4 separate regions of the Homo sapiens genome follow, and all the other regions are linked to region 1. The links are contacts of gene promoters, found by promoter capture Hi-C in blood cells and fetal thymus (Javierre and others, 2016). All regions are on one chromosome and are shown on one strand. Each heading gives the region's core, a stretch centred on a gene start or on the middle of the fragment in contact. The rest is flanking DNA. Distances are from core to core; before and after follow the strand shown. Region 1 holds the start of KRT31 (keratin 31). Region 2 overlaps LOC105371775 (a long non-coding RNA gene). Region 3 has its middle 20 kb from the start of KRT25. Region 4 holds the start of KRT25 (keratin 25).

What was found. Contacts are between HindIII fragments. The CHiCAGO score rates a contact against its expected background, and 5 or more counts as called.
Region 2: a contact is called between a fragment that was not itself captured here and the fragment with the promoter of KRT31 in region 1, in 2 of 17 cell types (M2 macrophages and erythroblasts). The highest score is 7.2, in M2 macrophages.
Region 3: a fragment that was not itself captured here is called in contact with the fragment with the promoter of KRT31 in region 1 in 1 of 17 cell types (M2 macrophages); the score reaches 5.7 in M2 macrophages.
Region 4: a contact is called between the fragment with the promoter of KRT25 here and the fragment with the promoter of KRT31 in region 1, in 8 of 17 cell types (monocytes, M2 macrophages, M0 macrophages and 5 more). The highest score is 11.7, in monocytes.

The regions. Positions count from the first base shown.
Region 1 is chr17:41,395,986-41,399,687 of GRCh38, forward strand. KRT31 (keratin 31) reads right to left here and starts at 1,623. Exons shown (of 7, transcript NM_002277.3): 1 at 1,207-1,623; 2 at 928-1,010; 3 at 435-591. The coding sequence starts at 1,554. The HindIII fragment of the contact is 10,261 bases long and covers 1-3,702 here.
Region 2 is chr17:40,694,499-40,698,200 of GRCh38, forward strand. It overlaps LOC105371775 (a long non-coding RNA gene), which reads left to right. Exons shown (of 4, transcript XR_934751.2): 4 at 2,958-3,342. It overlaps KRT24 (keratin 24), which reads right to left. Exons shown (of 8, transcript NM_019016.3): 8 at 3,493-3,702. Among named protein-coding and RNA genes, the nearest start is that of KRT24, 7.4 kb to the right of the region's middle. The HindIII fragment of the contact is 3,749 bases long and covers 1-3,627 here.
Region 3 is chr17:40,733,155-40,736,856 of GRCh38, forward strand. No RefSeq gene overlaps it. Among named protein-coding and RNA genes, the nearest start is that of KRT25, 20 kb to the right of the region's middle. The HindIII fragment of the contact is 590 bases long and covers 1,406-1,995 here.
Region 4 is chr17:40,753,202-40,756,903 of GRCh38, forward strand. It overlaps KRT25 (keratin 25), which reads right to left and starts at 2,130. Exons shown (of 8, transcript NM_181534.4): 1 at 1,642-2,130; 2 at 1,185-1,267; 3 at 659-815. The coding sequence starts at 2,070. The HindIII fragment of the contact is 3,727 bases long and covers 940-3,702 here.

The DNA of each region.
Region 1 (3,702 bases), core at 373-2,872:
GAGCATGTCATGGCCCCTCCCAAGAGAGAGGAAGAATCTCACAAACACTCTTCACCAATACTTTGAAAGAGTAGAGACTCACATTTATAAGGTTTGATATTTTTTTTCTTGGCCTTTGCCAAAAAAAAAAAAAAAAGACTTTACAAAGCAATAACACTGCAATGCTAGGACTCATTCTACAACTATTGATCAACTGCAAGCACATGGAGCTGCTCCGGGCAACTCAAATAATGTGCTAGTTTAAAGTGAAAGATGTTTCCTGTCTGGGAACATGAACAGGTCTTATCTCTCTCCAATTTTTCTCTTACCGTGATGTTTTCAAAGGAAACCCTCAGTCTTGTACTCATACTCTGCATTCTGCTGCCCCAAATCACTAAAGCAACCCTGAGCCAGAGGCTGAGACAGGTTTGTGCATTTCTCATTTCTAGTCTCACCTGCTCATGGTTGCTCTTGAGGCAGAGCAGCTCCTCCTTCAGGGACTCCACCTGGGCCTCCAGGTCGGACTTGCACAGGGTCAGCTCATCCAGGATCCTGCGCAGACCGTTGATGTCCGACTCCACCAGCTGCCGCAGGGACAGCTCGGTCTGGTACCTGCGCAAGGACAGGGTCAGAGTACTACCTGGTAGATCTTCAAGACTCACAGGAATGATTTTTGATAACCTCATGTGCCTTATCTTTCCACTTTCTGTAATGAATAGGCCCAGGAGACAGAGGTTTCTGGAGGCTCCATCAATACCCAATATTCATCCCAAAACAAACAGATTGATGTGAGTCCTCATCCATTTTTGCATTTCTTTGCTTGGTTCTCCCCAGTCCTCTGCAGAATCCTTCACAACAAGTGGGTAGATCTGTTTTCAGATGGAAATCCCTTTTCTTTAAAGATTAAACAGAAGCAATTGACACTAGTGCAAATTCCGAACAACTCACTTGGTTCTGAAATCATCCGCAGCCAGCTTGGCGTTGTCGATCTGCACCACAAGCCTGGCATTCTCAGACTTGGTACACAGGATCTGGGGAGTGAGAGGTGGCTTAGTGAGGACTGAAAATAAATATGAAATCATCAACTTTTTAAAAATGACTTAAGCCATTTTGAAATAAAAGAGGAAGCAAGAATTATGACAGCACAGAAGCAAGAAACACACTTCTCTATCACAGACAGAATCACAGCAAACTCTCTTGCTTGGAGATGACAGCAATGCCGCTCACCTTCTGCTGGAGCTCCTCAATGGTCTTAAAATAGGACTGGTAACTGGGGCACAGCAAGGGCTCCTGCTGCTGAGACCGCTCCCGGATGAGGTTCTCCAGCTCCGCGTTGTCCCGCTCCAGCTGACGCACTTTCTCCAGGTAGCTGGCCAGGCGGTCGTTCAGGAACTGCATAGTCTCCTTCTCGCTACCATTGAAGGAGCCCTCGCAGAACCAGTTGCAGTTGCTCACATTGGCGGGGATGTTGCAGGCCCCGGGCAGGGTGCAGCTGTGGCAGCTGGGGGGCACGCAGGGCCGGGAGGAGCAGCTGGTGCGGCAGCTCAGGCTGGGCAGGCAGAAGTTGTAGGGCATAGTGCTGGGAGGGAGGGAGGGAGTGCCTGGCTGAAGACAGAGTCTAAATTCTCCAAGCCACAGAGCTGTGGGTCTCCTTCCTCTAGGGAGCATTTATATCCCACTGCAGAGGGTGTGGACACAGTATGTAATGTCTTTTTTCTTTTTATTTCTTCACTTCTTTTCAAACGCCCTTTCCTTCAGTCTGTTATTTGCCTTCCTCTGAAGAGTCCCTTCTCCCATAAAATTCTTTACTTGGGCTTCTTGCTAAGTCAGGACTCCTCCGCAGACAGTCCACCCATGAAATCAGAGTTCTGTGGTAGGCCTTCAAAGAGGCTACACAGTCCAGCCCAAGTATCTGCCCTCATTAATTGAGGTGTTGATCCATCCGATGACATTCTTTTGTGTCACATAATTCTGCAGGCCCATAAACATACTCATGTCCTGGTCCACCTGCCGTTTCTAGGGAGAAACACGGATTGATTTGAGGAAGAAGTTGCATTAAGAGGCCACAGTGGACTGTCTTTCCCTCTGCATTTAGAGAAGAATCTTCAAATGATGGAGCATTCTGTGCCTTGGAAGCCTTAAGGTGGATGATTAGAATCAATGGAGGACACGACTGAAAAGATTAGACAGCGATTTGTGTTTTACGGGTCCGTGTAATACTTCCCCCCCACCACCACATATTACTTAAGAAAATTGTAGAGGAGAGAATTTTAAAGGTAGAGGCTTTGATAACTAGTTGGAGAACAAGAAGTTTCTGGGGTAAGAGATCGTTTTGAAAGAGGCTGAAAAGTGCAAACCGAGAGAGCCATAAAAAACACATTTAAGGCTGGGCACAATGGCTCACGCCTGTAATCTCAATACTTTGGGAGGCCGAGGCCGGCGGATCACGAGGTCTAGAGATAGAGACCATCCTGGCCAACATAGTGAAACCCATCTCTACTAAAAATACAAAAAAATTAGCTGGGCATGGTGGCACCCACCTGTAGTCCCAGCTACTCGGGAAGCTGAGGCAGGAGAATCACTTGAACCTGGGAGGTGAAGGTTGCAGTAAGCCGAGATGGTGCCACTGCACTCCAGCCTGGTGACAGAGCAAGACTCCATCTCAAAATACAAAACAAAACAAAAAAAATGCATTTAAATAATCTAGGAAAGATATTCAGGGGCAGAGAGAAAGGAATAAGGAGGTCTTTGTCAAACATTTCCTAAGGTTATCCATAGTATCCGAACAGAGTAGATGGATATGTTAGGAAAGTCAGGAGATAGCCCAAAGGGGCCTCCACGGCCTGAAATCACTTGTAGTTGATCTTTAAACTTCATATGAATTGACCCTATATTCCATAATATATCCATGTTGGCTTTAATCTTTATATATATATATATATATATATTTTTTTTTTTTTTTCAGATGGAGTCTTGCTCTGTCACCCAGGCTGGAGTGCAGTGGAGCGATCTCGGCTCACTGCAAGCTCCGCCTCCCAGATTCATGCCATTCTCCTGCCTCAGCCTCCTGAGTAGCTAGGACTACAGGTGCCCACCACCACGCCCGGCTAATTTTTTGTATTTTTAGTAGAGATGGAGTTTCACCGTGTTAGCAAGGATGGTCTCAATCTCCTGACCTCGTGATCCACCCGCCTCAGCCTCCCAAAGTGCTGGGATTACAGGCGTGAGCCACCGCGCCCAGCCAGCTTTAATGTTTTTAAAAAGCCCCTTTTAAATTTCCAGTTAAACTTTCAAATACTTTGCTTAATTCTCTAAGAGAAATGGATACATCAGGAAGATGTACCATATTCTGTCCTGGGCTTCCCATCTCCAGCCCGAGTGGAGATGCCACCTGCTTTAAGAACCAAAGGTCTAAAGGTACCAAAGGAGGTCTCTGTGGTTGTGTAATTAAATCCAAGGACCTGGGCACCAGGAAAGAAAATGCTGAGCACGGCATGAGCAAGGGGGTTTTGCAAGGCAAGCTGGAGTCATTTGGGGTTGCTTTGGGAGGTGAAGGAAGGCACTAGAAGATCTGAGGAAGAGGTAGCCAAAGTTCTGAATATATAAAAGTTGCAGCACCCCCATCTCCACTGTGGCTTTGGCTGCCAGCCAGAGCTGCCGTTTTATTGACAATTTATTGGAGTGCTTCTCCCATTGAGCTTTCATGATGGTATTCATGTTGCA
Region 2 (3,702 bases), core at 503-3,002, 700 kb before region 1:
TGATATTACAAATGAGTACTTTGTTTTCAGAAGGGCTTGATCAATATTTTCTGTTACCCAAGTGTCATATCTCAGCCACTGAAAAGTTTTTAAAGTGGTTTATTACTTGTAGTATTTTGTTCCTTGAGGAGGTTGTGTGGATAATATTACTTGAGCTTCATTTTGGGTGATTTATATTCACCAGTTTGTCTCCTCCTGGGTGAACACTGTCTAATTCCACGAAGTCGTCAAGCCAGTTTAGGCCACTTTCCTTAGAGCTTCAAATACTTTAGCCGTTTACTCTGAGCTGCCTGCTGTGAACCTTGTTTCTTGTTTGTCATCTCTGTGAGGATGGATGCCACGTCGACCATTCTCATCATTCTTGTGTATACTTCCCTGAGGTGAGAAAGAAAAAACAACCCTGTGAATCTCTGGATTAAAAGTCAACGGGTGAAAACCCATGTGCGAGGCTGGGTGCGGTGGCTCACGCCTGTAATCCCAGCACTTTGGGAGGCCGAGGTGGGCGGATCCCAAGGTCAGGAGTTCGAGACCAGCCTGGCCAACATGGTGAAACCCCGTCTCTACTAAAAATACAAAAATTAGCTGGGCTTGGTGGCGCGTGCCTGTAATCCCAGCTACTCAGGAGGCTGAGGCAGGAGAATCGCTTGAACCTGGGAGGTGGAGGCGAGATCGCGCCGCTGCACTCCAGCCTGGGCGACAAGCGAGAGACTCTGTCTCAAAAAAAACAAACAAACAAAAAAGAAAGCCCATGTGCATGTGGGCATGAGCTCTCCCTTCTTACAGTAAATCCACTCTTAGAAAAAAGAAATGTGTTCCTCTCATTCAAAAGTTGAGGCTGAATGCAGTCGTTCATGCCTATAACCCCAGCCCTTTGGAAGGCCGAGGTGGGAGGATTGCTTGAGCCCAGGAGTTTGAGACCAGCCTGGGCAACATAGTGAAACTCCATCTCTACAAAAAATAAACAAAATTAGCTGGGCATGGTTGCCTGCAGCTACTCAGGAGGCTGAGGTGGGAGGATTGCTTGAGCCCAGGAAGTTGAGGCTGCAGGTGAATCGAGATGGCACCACTACACTCCAGCCTGGGCAACAGAGCGAGACCCTGTAACAAAACAAAGCAAAAAAATTGCCTGGAGAGCTGAACTTTAGGGTCTCACAATAAACATATTCCTATTGTAGAGTTTTAAAATAATTTTAAGGCAAGTAATAATGTATGAACACCATGTCCTTAACTTTTTATTCAGCACTGTAAATACGTTTTATGATCCAAAATGGTTGAATAGTTTCAGTTTTCAAAATTGAACATGCCCTTAACAACACATTCTATTGTGTCTCAGTGTTCTGGTGTCTATGATTGGGCCTTTTCTATATTTGTAAACAATCATTCAGTACAAACGCAGCATCTTAACGCATGACAAGGAAGAACAGATGAGGGTTTTCACCTCGAGATGACTTTCAGAGTAGCCTTATACTTTTGCCTTGACATGAAAATAGTACTAGCCATGAACATAGGTCTCAGGTGGCCAAAATCCACAGCTAGAAGGTTAGACTTGAGAAGACCCACAGAGAGAGGCTTCGCTGATGTGGCCGGGATGGCTTAGGTTCTGCAGGCTGCTTACGGCAGATTTCCATTTCTGCTCTTGAGCTATGAATCCAGTTGGATGAGCTGGTTCAGACTTTTAGTATTTCAGCAGAGAAGAAGCATTCAGGGTTTTATTTATTGTAATGATTTGATGGTGGAAAACAGCTTTGACTTAAGCAACTTAACATTGCTCTTTTTCTTTGAGTAGTGGTTTAATGTTTATTCTGTGGTTAGCTATTAACCTTATTCTGTGGTTAGCTATTTAAGCAGAAGTCATAATGTACCCAGAGGTTCATTTTAAGTTTTATTCAATGTGCCCAGAAGATGAAAAACTACATGTTTTGATGATAGGTTTGATATGCTCACACAATTCTTAATTGGTTTTATATTGGAAGATACATGTTCAGATTTGTCCTTTTATAACTTTACATTTGGCTTTTTATGCCACGTCCCGTGTTCTTTCCTTGAGGACTGGCTTGTAGAGTTGATTCTCTAATTTGTGATATGGGCATATTAAATTCCTTGATTGAGAAAGCCCTTAGCCAGCCTGGGTTGGTGCTATGCCTGGTTCTTCCTGGGGCCCGTACCACCTCCTACCCAATCTTAACAGGTTTCATCATCCCAAACAAGACAAGACAAAGCCATGTGGCCTCAGGGATACTGTAGAAATGAAAGAATAGGGCTATGACCACCAACGGGATGAAAGATCTTAGCAGTGGAGACTGGGGAAAAGAAACACCAGCTTGGCGAAGTGGCAGGTTTTGGCTAAAGATGTGGCTAGATTTGGCAGGGGAACAAGTGCCTGAGGATCTCTTCTCTTTGGGGCTTTCAAGGTTTCAGGAAATCAGATTGCCATATCACATAGCCAATCTTATTTCCCAAGACTCTTTTTTGGCCCCTGTCCTAAATGTCCTGTAAACACACATGTCTGATTCCTATGTCACTTCTGATGCAGATTGTGAAATCAAGTCTTTACTATTAACAGCTTTTTATTGCTTGCTGTCTTCTTTGTGTTTTAGCTCTTCTTCTCTGCTGAAATGTGAGCTTTTTGAAGTAGGAGGGAGATTTTGAGTTTCTTTTTTATCTTATAAAATATCGAGTTCAGTGATGGACATATATAAACTAGACATTAATTATAAGTTGATTATTAAAATAATCACATCCTTCTTTGTGGGCTAAGCCGTTGACACGGTAGTCTAATTTCAGCTATCATGCCACTGAGTTCTTATGTGATGCCATTAAAAATGCCCACATTAAAAAAATGACTATAATCTGAATTGTATAAAGAAGGTAATGTGATACCCTACCTCGTTTTAACCTGATTGTCTCTCTTAGCTGAGAGAGCCGGACAGACTCCATTTTTGTTTCTTCACTTGCAGCTCCCCTCCCTTAAAGGCATAAGTAGTGCAAGCTGACTCCGAGCACATCCAGGAATGCGCTTACTGATGAGATATCGAGGCAAGCTAAATCAGCAGTTCCTGAGGACGCGCTTGGGGGATGGCACCCAAAGCCCCTGCATTATCTCTTTGTGATAGTTTGAGCCCCTGCACCTGGAACTGTTTACTTTTCTGTAACTGTTTCTGTAACCAATTAATCTTTCTTAATTGGTTTGCCTGTTCTGCTTCTGTAAAAATTGCTTCAGCTAAACTCCCTCTCCCCTATTTAGACCACGATATAAAAAGAAATCTAGCCCCTTCTTCGGGGCCGAGAGAATTTTGAGCTCTAGCCGTCTTGTTCGCCGGCAATAAAAGGACTCCTGAATTAGTCTCAGAGTGTGTCATTTCTCTATAACTCGCTCAGTTACAACAGTAAGATATAAAGAATGAACTGACATTAGTAATATAGTCATGCAGCTAGATCATACTTGATAGCTTCCTTCCTAGGTAAAATACTTTTTAAAAAAATAAGTAATAATTAACTTGCAAAAGTAAATTTATTGAAGCATAGAAACAATTAAAGCAAAGTTGTTAATTCAGCTATTTCAAGAGCATTCTAATGAGGAAATAAGAAGATGCAGAAAAGTTGGCTAGTCATCCATTTCTGGACTGAAGCTTTTCCTGAAATTATCCAGAAAGATGCCTAGATTGATGCCATTTCTTCGCTTGTGTCCTTCTTGATTTTTTT
Region 3 (3,702 bases), core at 451-2,950, 660 kb before region 1:
ATCCCTCTGAGCCTGAGTGGAGATTTAGGTACTCTCAGGGGTAATTGTCTTTATTTTCTGCTGAGGTGACTTCTGTAGAAAGATCTCAAGTCTTTTCTGCAATTAGGCTTTGCATACATGCATGTGCCGAAGATTGGCAGGAACTCAGCAGATGCTAAATATTAAAGACGGTCTCTAACAGAGAACTCTTTTTTTTTTGAGATGGAGTCTTGCTCTGTCACCCAGGCTGGAGTACGGTGGCGCAATCTTGGCTCACTGCAGCCTCCGCCTCCTGGGTTCAAGCGATTCTCCTGCCTCAGTCTCCCCAGTAGCTGGGATTATAGGTGCCCACCACAAGGCCCAGCTAATTTTTGTATTTTCAGTAGAGACGGGGTTTCACTGTGTTGGCCAGGCTGGTCTTGAACTCCTGACCTCGTGATCTGCCCTCCTCGGCCTCCCAAAGTGGTGGGATTACCGGCATGAGCCACTGTGTGCAGCTTTTTTTTTTTTTTTTTTTTTTTTTTTGACTGGGTCCTGCTCTGTTACCCAGGCTGGAGTGCAGTGGCATGATCTCGGCTCACTGCAACCTCTGTCTCCTGGGTTCAGCCATTTCTCCTGCCTCAGCCTCCTGAGTAGCTGGGATTACAGGTGCCTGCCACTGCGCCAACTAATTTTTGTATTTTTAGTGGAGATGGGTTTTCACTATGCTTGCCAGGCTGGTCTCGAACTCCTGACTTCAGGTGATCTGCCTGCCTCAGCCTCCCAAAGTGCTGGAATTACAGGCATGAGCCACCATGCCCAGCCCAAGAGAACTCATTTTAAGGAAGGATGGACTCCATTATGAGCTGTATGTGACGACAGAGCCTAGATGTCCAAGGGTATGGAGGGCTTGAGTGTGGGGTGCTCATGCATGCTGGCAGTTGGGGGTAGGACTTGTAGGGGATGAATGTGCTGAAGTGAAACTCCGTACTATCTTGGGGCTCTGCACAGGAGACCTCTTCTGCAGGAAAGGGTTAACTCAGCAGGCTTGGGGTGTTTAGATCTTGCACATACCAAAGAAAGGCGTAGCCCTTACCCAGCTCTTGGGGAAAAAGCTCTCAGCTTTGGAATATTCTGCCTGATAGGAGTGTCTTTGTATACCTGGGGCTTTAGGCCACGGCAGAGAGTTTATGCTAACAGTGTGACTTATAGTGGCGTTCTTGGGCTACGCTGTATCAGTTTGACTTCTGGAGGGGCTGCAGACTGAGTAACTGAGGTGAACCATGTGGGCGTCCCATACCTAAGTGACTGACCCCCAATAAAAACTCTGGACACCAAGGTTTGGGCAAGCTTCTCTGGTTGACATTACTATGTATGCATTGTCACACATCATTTCTGGGAGAATTAAGTGCTGTTTTTTGTGACTCCATGTGAAAGAACAATTGGAAGCTTATGCCTCGTCTCTCCTGGACATGGCCCTATGTGCCTTTTGCCTTTGCTGATTTTAATGTGTATCCTTTTACTGTAATAAACCATAACCATGAGTATAACATTTTTCTGAGATCTGTGAGTCCTTCTAGTGAACCATTGAAATTGAGGATGGTCTTGGGGGCCCCAACATACCCCTATAGAATGGAGCTCAGAAAAAGTAGAAGGGTGTTTCTTTTCTCCCTTTTTGGATAGAAACTTCCAAGTAATTGTAGCATATCATGAGACTTGAGAGTATCAGTGGCCTAGTGCAGAGCATTAAATTATAGTGGAAAAGACTGGTAGCCAGAGGTTTTGTATGTAGTTTTTTATAGGTGGCAACTAAATAACTAGAAAAATTAAATTAGTGCATCAATGTTAAGAAGACTTCATGGATCCCTGTAAACTGGTGGAGAGTGAGGACTTCTGGTTATGTTTCAGTTACTAAATCCTCTAGGTAATTTACAAATTATAGCCATGCTCTCTTAGGTATATAAATATACCTCTTTCCATATTAAGCAGAATGCCCTCAAGAACCAATGTGGTTACATTTTTCTTCCCTTTTTGGAAAGCTTTCAATTACTTCCTACCTTTGACACTAGTTCAGGCATGTTAACCACCTTGCCACATAGAACCTCCCATCTGAGCAGGAAGGTTTAGGCTGCAATGAGTGCCGTGTTCCTGCAGGTATAAGTATCACAGAGGACAGGATTAGGAACAGTGCTCTCTGTATGTTCTTTGTAGACTTGCCATTTTGGCAACACAGTCATTGGAACTAGGTCATTTTCTCCTGAATATTTTTGTTTTAATTGGCTAATTTATTCAACTCATTGTCTGAGTCTTATGGTAAAGTAGGGAGAATTGTCATTCACCTTTAAGAGGATTGATAAGGCTGGGCGTGGTGGCTCATGCCTGTCCCAGCACTTTGGGAGGTTAAGGAGGGAGGATTGCTTGAGCCCAGAGATTTGAGACTAGACAAGGCAACATAGGGAGACCCCATCTCTACAAAAATAAATAAATAAGTAAGAGAATTGATAAGATGAAATCTCTCATTCTTCTTACTAGAAATGCCTCTGAATCAACCACTTCTCATGGGGCATTAGTTTCCTCAAGGGGAAATGACACGGACTAGTCTCTAAGCTCTCTTTTATCTTTAAACTTCTCTGATAACATACAATTAATTTTTAAATTTTTATTTCCTTTTCACCGTAGTAGCTACATTGATTGAGGGTTTAATATGAACCAGACACTCTCCAAAGCGCATAGATTAGATATTTAATCATCACACCAACTCTCTGAATAGGTGTTAATATTATTATCACCATTTTACAGGTGAGGAAATTGAGAGACAAGGTAATCAGATAACTTGCCCAAGAAAACACAGCTAGAAAGGGGTAGAAATAGTTTTAAATCCAGAAAATTCGAGGCTTGTTCCCTTAACCACTCTTCAGTGTTGCCTTCTCTGACAAGTAAGGGACTACATTTTCTTTAGCTTGATATATTCCTTTGATGCATTAATAAAATGAATTAGAGGAAAAGGTCCAAGCCATGGTGCTCTGACCTGCTCACTGAGGCTGGAACCACTCAGCTGTAGTCTGAATCCTCATAGGACTACCGCTCCTGATCACATTCTCATGCCCTGGAAATTGATCACCTGGAATTGTGGAAATAGTTCTATGTACAACCACTAGGCCATTCCTGAGGCTACAAATGGTTTCTGAAATATTTTCTAAGACGTGAATAAGAAAAAAGCAAGGGAAAATGAATAAAACCAGGTGTGATATCCAAAATAGTTAACAATTATATGGCATGGACATGGATGAGTCAGAATGAATACTAGCAGCTGGTAAGTCTGGACTGGGGTCCTGGACCCCCCCCCCTGCTGTGCCTAGCATGTTTGGTTACTGATGGTGTACAGGGGGTCATGGGCAAGCCCTGCGGCCATCGTTGAGGCCATTCAGAGGGCCTCTGGGCAGTGGCTACTTATCAGCCCTATGAGCTATTTTGGTATTTTATTATATTATTTATTTATTTAGAGACAGGGTTTCAATCTGTCGCCCAGGCTGGAGTGCTGTGCTCACTGCAACCTCGACCTCACAGGTTCAAGCAAACCTCCTGCCGCAGCCCCTCAAGTAGCTGGGACGACAGGAGCGCACCACCAGTCCTGGCTTATTTTCTGTATTTTTTGTAGAGACGGGGTTTTGCCATATTGCCCAGGTTGATCTCAAAATCTTGAGCATAAGCAATATGCCTGCCTTGGTCTCCCAAAGTGCTAGG
Region 4 (3,702 bases), core at 880-3,379, 640 kb before region 1:
AAGTATATTTATTTTATATTTATTTTATCTAATTAGACTTAATGTCCAAAGCGGATCATTTTAACTTAGTTATAATTACACAGCCAAACACTGCTCTTATAACCCTGATTGGTCTGGAAAACATGATTCGTTTTTTTTTTTCCCCATAGGAAACTTGATGAGAGAGCAAGGGTGAATCTGTACAAAGAATCTGACACTTAAAAAGACAGCTCAGGCCGGGTGCGGTGGCTCACGCCTGTAATCCCAGCACTTTGGGAGGCTGAGGCAGGTGGATCACGAGGTCAGGAGATCGAGACCATCCTGGCTTACACAGTGAAACCCCGTCTCTACTAAAAATACATAAAATTAGCCGGGCGCCTGTAGTCCCAGCTACTCGGGAGGCTGAGGCAGGAGAATGCCGTGAACCCAGGAGGCGGAGCTTGCAGTGAGCCAAGATCGCACCATTGCACTTCAGCCTGGACGGCAGAGCGAGACTCCGTCTCAAAAAAAAAAAAAAAAAAAAAAAAAAAAAAAAAAAAAAAAGACAGCTCAGCCCTCATGTCTGTCTGACAATGTGTCTTCAGCACCAACTTTTTATATGAGAGGTTATGTACATTATCTCCTGTCAGGTGCACAGTGTCTGCGGAGGGATAGCAAAATGTAGACGACCAGCTCTTACCTCTTTATGGTTCTTTTTGAGGTAAGTCATCTCCTCACTCAGGGTTTCATACTGAATCTCCAGATCTGTTCTGCACAGGGTTATTTCATCCAAAACTCTTCGTAACCCATTGACATCAGCCTCTACACTCTGGTGAAGAGCCAGCTCATTTTCATACCTTAAAGAGTGTTAATGATTTCCTAATTTGTCACATGGTTGGAGACATAGTCACTAGTCACTGATCAATGACAAATGCTAGCATTCTGGAATTTTGAAGATTTGGCCACAAGAGGCATTTTCAAAGCTTGTTGTATAATAATTATTGTTTCTACTTTGCAGTATTTGACAGAAAAAGAACTAGGGTATTGGGCGCTAGTTTTAATAGCAGTTCATGCTTTGTATTTAATAGTCAAAGCATAAAAAAGTAATAACATCCTGTTTATGTGAAATTCAAGTGTTTTATAATTTTGGAATAAGAGTTGCTAAATTTGATGTAATGCGTTGCATGAATTGCCATGAATTCATTTCACTCTGGCAGTCTACTTACTTGAGTCTGAAATCATCAGCTGTAAGCCTGGCATTATCGATCTGCAGAACAGCATTAGCATTGCTGGTGGTGGATGCGATGATCTAGAAATGGGAATTTGACTTTTATCATGAAGTAAACCAACTGAATCTACTTAATGCTTATTTCTAATGCTAAATTGGAATTCTCTTTAAGAAATCACAAGTAGGAGGGCATGGTGGCAGGCACCTGTAATCCCAGCTACTTGGGAGGCTGAGGCAGGAGAATCTCTTGAACCCAGGAGGTGGAGGTTGCAGTGAGCCAAGATCCCACGGTTGCACTCCAGCCTGGGCAACAAGAGCAAAACTCCTTCTCAAAAAAAAAAAAAAAAAAAAATCACAAGTAGGAATGATAAATGTTTTTAGAATTTAATAAAGAAAGGAAAACAAAATTTAGAAATAAAGGTACATGAAAATGATTGTGCAGTATGATTTCTTACCTGATTTTTAAGGTCATCAATTATTGGGAAATATCTGCTATAGTCATGATCAAGACCACGGCAAGAGCCAGGCCCAAATTTCTCATACCAGCCCTTGATCTTCTGCTCCAGGTCAGCGTTGGCCTCCTCCAGAGCATGCACACTGTCCAGGTAGGATGCCAGGCGGTCATTGAGGTTCTGCATGGTCACCTTCTCATTGCCAGAAAGGAGCCCCCGCTCATTCACAGTGAAGCCAGCACAGGGATTACCTCCCCCTGTGTTTCCTCCCGATGAGCTGCCTCCGAAGGCACTAGAGAAGCCACTTCCAATCCCTGAAATGCCACAAGAATTTCCAGTACCAAAGCTGGTTCCCCCACCATAGAGTCTGAGTGATCCAGTGGTGGGACGAGGACAGGACCTCCTGGATGCACTGGAAAGTCGAAGAGACATGGTATCAGGGCAAACGCGTTGCAGAGCTGTATTTGTGAAAGCCAGAATGGAGTGCCTTCTTGTCTAAAAGGTTTGGTTTGCCTTTTTATAGGCAAGTCCCAAGTGTGTTCTGAATGAAATTCTGCCTACACAGAGTAAAACATGGCTTGCCAGTCTCAGCAAGTTGGCATAATTGGGTGATTTTTTCTAATTAGTAACTCACTTTGCTGGGCTCATTCCTGTAGGAGGGCAGTTGCCCTCAGGTTGGTGGTTATCTGAGAAATGGGTCTGGGTGGAGCAATGTCAGGTTCATTATTACGTTTTTAAATGCTGAGTGAGTCATTCTTCACTTCCATCCTTGGAAGTAAACCTCATCAGCTCATTACAGGATAGAAATTTAGCATCATGGTTTTGGGCTATTATGCCAAGGCAGATTGTGATGTTTCTGAGGCTTTTTCTGCTTTTATTTTCACAAGTTTTTCCACATAAGTAGAGAATAGAACTGTAATCATTTCCCCAACCTGGTTCTTCAACCAATAGGTTTTTGTTTTTATTTTTAAATTCCTCTTGCCACTCTTTCCCATGGGAAGTTAACTTCCATTCTGGCTGACATGAGCATCATATTCTGTTGACACTTATGACTGAGGAGAGTTGTCTTACCTTATCCATTTTGGTAATTAGGAGCACACCCCTAATTGGTGTTATGTTTTGTGGGAGTTTGGAAAGACATTAACTTATTTCCTGACCCTGCAAAATCTGAAGCAAACCTGGTAGGAACTATTTTTTCTGTCTTAATTTATTGTGGTTTAGCTCAGATGAAAGTCATCAGTAAGGTATTTAGTCGGTGGGAATTCACATATATTTACTGAAAACTCTACCTATTATGGAAATATAAAAAATTGACAAATAAGGCCAGGCACAGTGGCTTACGCCTGTAATCCTAGCACTTTGGGAGGCTGAGGCAGGTGGATCACTTGAGGTCAGGCATTTGAGACCAGCCTCACCAACATGGTGAAACCCCATCTCTACTAAAAATACAAAAATTAGCCAGGCATCATGGCGAGGTGCCTGTAATCCCAGCTACTCGGGAGGCTGAGGCAAGAGAATCAATTGAACCTGGGAGGCAGAGGTTACAGTGAGCTAAGATTGTGTCACTGCACTCCAGCCAGAGTGACAGAATGAGACTCTGCCTCAAAAAAAAAAAAATGAGAAATAAAAATTGTATATATTTATGGTGCACGACATGATTTTTTGATATATGAATATATTGTGTAATGACCAAATCAAGCTAATTAACATATCTATTACCTCACATACCTATTTTGTGGTAAGAACATTTAAAATCTACTTTCTTATTGTTATTAACTATAGTCACCATATTGTACAATAGTTATCCTGAACTTATTCTTCCCACCTAAATGAAATTTTGTATTCTTTGACCAAAATTTCCCTAGTGCACTTCCCTGATGATTAGTGATGTTGAGCACCTTTTCATAAACCTATTGGCTATTTGTATGTCTTTTGAGAAATGTCTTTTTTTTTTTTGTTTGAGACGGAGCCTCACTCTGTCGCCAAGGCTGGAGTGCAGTGGTGCGATCTGGGCCCACTGCAAGCTCCGCCTCCTGGGTTCAAGCCATTCTCCTGCCTCAGCCT